2 separate regions of the Homo sapiens genome follow, and region 1 is linked to region 2. Evidence: promoter capture Hi-C in 16 types of primary human blood cells and fetal thymus (Javierre and others, 2016). All regions are on one chromosome and are shown on one strand. Each heading gives the region's core, a stretch centred on a gene start or on the middle of the fragment in contact. The rest is flanking DNA. Distances are from core to core; before and after follow the strand shown. Region 1 holds the start of KAT5 (lysine acetyltransferase 5). Region 2 has its middle 9.1 kb from the start of EIF1AD.

The links. Contacts are between HindIII fragments. The CHiCAGO score rates a contact against its expected background, and 5 or more counts as called.
Region 1: a contact is called between the fragment with the promoter of KAT5 here and a fragment that was not itself captured in region 2, in 15 of 17 cell types (naive CD8 T cells, endothelial precursors, erythroblasts and 12 more). The highest score is 10.8, in naive CD8 T cells.

The regions. Positions count from the first base shown.
Region 1 is chr11:65,710,957-65,713,656 of GRCh38, reverse strand. KAT5 (lysine acetyltransferase 5) reads right to left here and starts at 1,405. Exons shown (of 13, transcript NM_182710.3): 1 at 1,212-1,405; 2 at 823-891; 3 at 599-735; 4 at 154-309; 5 at 1-64. The coding sequence starts at 1,389. RefSeq lists silencers at 1,080-1,159, 1,170-1,359 and enhancers at 1,390-1,699, 1,730-1,849. The HindIII fragment of the contact is 6,423 bases long and covers 850-2,700 here.
Region 2 is chr11:65,991,640-65,994,479 of GRCh38, reverse strand. No RefSeq gene overlaps it. Among named protein-coding and RNA genes, the nearest start is that of EIF1AD, 9.1 kb to the left of the region's middle. The HindIII fragment of the contact is 2,532 bases long and covers 13-2,544 here.

The sequences.
Region 1 (2,700 bases), core at 156-2,655, 280 kb after region 2:
CCGAGGCCGGGGCTGTCTCGCTGGGCACTGGAGTTGCTGGTGAAACCACCTCCACCTTCCGTTTCTGCAGAGAGAAACCAACAAAGGTGGGTCAGAAGGTAGAGAAGGTGGGACCTGAGAAGAAAGCAAGGTCCCTGGAATTGCTGAGGGTACCGTTGAGCGGTGGTTGGGCTGCAGGCAGGAGCTGGAGGAGAGCGGCTGGTCAGGCTCGCCACCGGGAATGGCCTCCCGCTCCTTGGGCAGGTTGAAGCGGAGTGTGATCTGGACCGGGATTGGCAAGGTCTTCCCGCTGGCCTGCGCCGAGGCCGGCTGTAGAGATAGGTCCAGGGTCTTCCTTTGGGGCGGGGATGGCAGTGGGATGGGGAAGGGGAAGAGGGGTCCCTCACCTCAAAATTATCAAACCCCACCCTCGCCTTCTGAAGGACACAGGACTAGCTACTGGACTCTGGGAGCTACATGTGCAATTTGGCCCCCATCCTTTGCAAGATGAAGTCAGGGTGAGAGGGAGCCGCCTCCTGCCCATCCAGGAGCTCCTAATGCCAACAGACAAGAGAAATAGGAGGCAGGAGAGAAAAGGTGAAGTGGGGGACCTACTCACCACCTCTCTCTCTGGAGAGCCAGGACGGGACCCAGGAAGTCCGTTCTTAGTGGGGGTCTTGGCCTCTTTCTTGGGGAACTGGATCTTCTTTAGGTCCAGCCGCTCATGCGTCACCCATTCATCCAGACGTTTGTTGACTGTAGCAGTGGGGATGGCTCAGGACAGAATGCCAAAGACTGTCCCCCAACCCTACCCTGATGCCCCACCTCAGGCCCAGAACTCACAGTCAATGTAATGGACGTAGAAAAGCTTCCGGCCACTGATGTCCTTCACGCTCAGGATCTCGGCCAGGGCTATGAGAATAGCATAGACAGGGGCCTTAGACAGGCCAGGCTATGAGACTCCACCCTTCCACGACCTGAACTCCACCCCCAGGCCGGATCCCTAAGCTCCAGCACTTAGGTCTCTCCTAAGCCTCCTTCAGTCACAAGTGCCACCCCTTTCCAGGCCCCGCCCTGTACCTCTCGGAGCAGCTAAGAGCCACGCCCCTTCATCAAAGTATCTGCGCCTCGCCCGCCCCATAATTCCAGACGCCCCTCCCCATCCCGGGATTTCAGTTGACTCCCGCCCCTCGCCCTCAGGTTCCTTAGTCCCGCCCCCCAACGTCACTCACGCCACTCATCTTCGTTGTCCTGGTTCCGCCGCAGCACGGGTAGGCGGCAGCCCTCGATTATCTCCCCCTGGGGAGACAGCGCGACGCCAGGGTCGGCTACTGGGGGGCCTCGGGCTCTACCCACCTCCCCTGGCTCCCTCCGCCCCGCCCCGGGCACCGGACTCACCACCTCCGCCATCTTCCCTCCCTCCACTGCCACTTCCGGCCCCTCTGGGAGACGTCACTTCCGGGACCGAGCGCCCTGTGGGCCCGGGCCTCACGAAGCCCCTGTAGAGGGGGACCTTTGAGAGACACCGCGACCCAGCTGCGAGGGGCAAGACTGCCCCTGTGACTCGGGGGAAAACGGAGTGTTACAAGCCTCAGGCCGAGCCCTAGGTGGAAACCCCATAACGTGCACAGCCAGTGGCGGTCTACTGAGTCCGTCACGTGACGCCCACCGGGTGCGAAGCTGGTCACGTGTATGCGGAGCGGGTCACGTGGCAATACCGTTTTTGGCTTTGTCGGAGGGAAGTCCTCGGGCGTCTCCTTGTGGCGGCGGGAGGTGTTGCCGGGAGTCAACTGGGCGCGAGAGGCTGGAGAAAGGAAGTGGCCTTAGAAGGGTTCGAACGCTCCCCCAAGTCTGTGGACTTCATTCCGTAGGCAAGAGGACTCAGGGAAGATTCCTAGCTTTATTTTGTATATTAGGCTTTTTTAATTTGTATATATTTATTTTTGAGACGGAGTCTCGCTCTGTCGCCAGGCTGGAGTGCAGTGGCGCGATCTCAGCTCCCTGTAACCCCCGCCTCCCGGGTTCAAGCGATTCTCCTGCCTCAGCCTCCCGAGTACCCAACTAATTTTTGTATTTTTAGTACGGGCGGGGTTTCACCATGTTGGCCAGGATGGTCTAGAGCTCTTGACCTCGTGATCCGCCCGCCTCGGCCTCACAAAGTACTGGGATTACAGGCGTGAGCCACCGCCCTCAGCCATATTAGGCTTTTTTTTTTTTTTTTTTTTTTTTTGAGACAAGGTCTGGCTCTCTCGCCCGGGCTGGAGTGCAGCCAGCGAGGCACAATCTCCGCTCACTGCAGCCTCCCCCTCCCGGGATCAAGTGATCCACCTCAGGCTCTCTAGTAGCTGGGACTACAGGCGCGCACCACCAAGCCTGGCTAGTTTTTTAAAATTTTTGTGTAAACAGGGTTTGGAGACTGGGCATGGTGGCTCACACCTGTAATCCCAGCTGCCTCCAGTCTAATCATGAGAAAAACATCAGACAAATCCCAATTGAGAAACATTTTACAAAATACCCCATGAATACTCCTCAAAACTGTGAAGGTGTCACCGGTGGAGGGTGTACAGGTTCTTGGCATCTAAAATAATGGGACAAAACGGCTGGGCGCGGTGGCTCACGCCTATAATCCCAGCACTTTGGGAGGCCGAGGCGGGCGGATCACGAGGTCAGGAGATTGAGACCATCCTGGCCAACACGGTGAAACCCTGTCTCTACTAAAAA
Region 2 (2,840 bases), core at 29-2,528:
TATATTTAAGCTTTTTGGGCAAAAGTTCATGCATAATATTTGTATTATTTGGAACTTTCTTTTTTTGTTTGTTTGTTTTTGTTTTGTTTTTGAGGCAGAGTTTCACTGTGTCGCCCAGGCTTGAGTGCAGTGGTGCAGTATCGGCTCACTGTAACCTCCACCTCCCGGGTTCAAGTGATTCTCCTGCCTCAGCCTCCCAAGTAGCTGGAATTACAGGCACCCGCCACCACACCCAGCTAATTTTTGTATTTTTAGTAGAGATGGGGTTTTGCCATGTTGACCAGGCTGGTCTCAAAGTCCTGACCTCAGGTGATTGGCCCCCCTCAGCCTCACAAAGTGCTGGGATTACAAGGGTGAGCCACTGCACCCAGTAATTTTTTTTTTTTTTTTGAGACAGCCTCTCACTCTGTTGCCCAGGCCATCATGGCGCCACTGCAGCCTTGACCTCCCAGGCCCAAGTGATTCTCCCACCTCAGCCTCCTGAGTAGCTGGAACCACATGTGCGCGCCACCACACCTGGCTAATTTTTTTTATTTTTAGTAGAGACAGGCTCTCCCTATGTTGCCCAGGCTAGTCTCGAACTCCCAGGCTCAAGTGATGCTCCTGCCCTGGCCTCTCAAAGTACTGGGATTACAGGTGAGAGCCACCATCCTGGCGTATGCGGGACTTTCTTATAAATGACAAAATTGAACTCAAATTAGGAGAAGTAAGCAAGGCTCATTGACCTGAGGTCTCTGAGTGGTGCGCATCGGGCAGGGATGAACCAATGCCAGCAGCATGAATTCCTCAGGCTCTCTCATTTATCTCTGTCATCTCTGCTCCCGGCTGATTAATTTCTTTCCCTCCTACAGATGTTTTCTGTAGAAAGCTCAAGTTTTTTTTTTTTTTTTTTTTTTGAGACGGAGTCTCGCTGTTGCCCAGGCTGGAGTGCAATGGCGCGATCTCGGCTCACTGCAGGCTCCGCCCCCCGGGGTTCACGCCATTCTCTTGCCTCAGCCTCCTGAGTAGCTGGGACTACAGGCGCCCGCCACCACGCCCGGCTAATTTTTTGTATTTTTAGTAGAGACAGGGTTTCACCGTGTTAGCCAGGATGGTCTCGATCTCCTGACCTCGTGATCCGCCTGCGTCGGCCTCCCAGAGTGCTGGGATTACAGGCATGAGCCACTGCGCCCAGCCAGGACGCTCAAGTTTATACACAGTCCTTGTAGACAGAGCCCCTTGGGGCTCTTGAGGATCCCTGTATTTCCGTGAAGGGCGATTGATCTTCCTCAGGTCACTTGCTGTGCTTGAGCAGTCACTGTGGCCAGGGCCGGGGGGTGGGAGGGTGTGGAGGACTGGGGTGGGGCAGGATGAGCCACAAGTAATTTTTATATGTTTCCCATGGAATAGAGAGGTTCTATTACCAGAAAAAGTGGGGCAAGGGGTGAGGGCAGGTGAAATCAACAAAATATGTTTATATTTTGTGTATTTTATTTGGCTAGCTTTGCAAGAGGTCTTCCTTACTGGACTTTTCCTTCGTTTCTTTGGGTTTATTTGCTCATTCTGGGTTCTTGAGATGTGTGCTTAGCTAATTTAATTTCAATTTGTTTTCTAATATATTCAGGGCTATATGTTTTCTTCTAAATAGTCCTTTGACTGTTCCCCACTTTGTGTGTGTGTGTTTTGGCGTTTTATCTGTAAACTTGGTCTTATGTTCTTCTCCATTCTCTCAGTGATACTGTGATCCACCTAGTAACATCTTTTTTTCCCCCTAAAACCTTTTCGTTTCCACTTCTTCATCTCTTACCAGCCATTCAGCTTCTGTGGGCTGTAGCTAAGGGTACTGATGGAGGTAGGGTCCTTGTATTCTGCATGCTACTTTCCTATGTCATTCTCTGAAGCTGGATTCCACCTCTGTTCTTCCAACTGAATGGTGGGATCCAACCATGTATGAATAGATCTCCCTGAGTGAGCTGAGATCTGATGTAAGAGCCCCTTGTCCCGATGTCATGGCCAGTCCCTGTGACTGGCTGCCTAATAGTACTTACTGGCTTCTCTTGCAGTTATGCTTGAGACTTTGTGGCCCTTCAGAATCTGTACCTCTGTCACTTCAGGACTAACCTCTACAGCCAGGTCATTTCCACCAGGGCTTCCCCGTGTGGCCCAGTGCGCTTTCCCCCCTTGCCACCCAGCCACCCCTGTGTGTGTGCCAGGGAGCACAGATGGCAGTCTGAGCTCACCACATGGTTTTCCTCTTCTAATCTGTAAATGTGGTGGAGTATCATAACATTCTCTCACGTTAAGATATCCTTGCATTCCTGGAAGAAGACAGTCACAATGGATTTGTTATTATACTGCCGGATTTGGTTCTCTGGTATTTTGGCATCCAGGTGTATAGGTGAAATGGTTTAAGGTTTTCCTTTTCCGTACTGCCCCCACCCTTTGTTTTGTATCAAGGTTATACCAGCTTCATATAAATAAGTTGGAAAGTGTTTTCCCTTTATTTTCATTACGAGAGTTTGTATAAGATTGGAATTTTGCATTTCTACAATTTTTGGTAAAGCTTGCTGTAAAACCAACCATGCCTGGCGATTTTTTGGGTGGGTGGGTAGGTAGGTTTGGAATTAGATTGTCAGTGGTAATAGATTACTCAGGTGTTCTGTTCTTCAGTCATATTTTCAAGGAAAAATATTTTCATGTTATTTATTTATTTATTTATTTTTGAGACAGGATCTTGCTCTGTCGCCCAGGCTGGAGTGCAGTGGCCCCATCTCGGCTCACTGCAACCTCCGCCTCCCGGGTTCAAGTGATTCTCCTGCCTCAGCCTCCCGAATAGCTGGGATTACAGGTATGTGCCACCA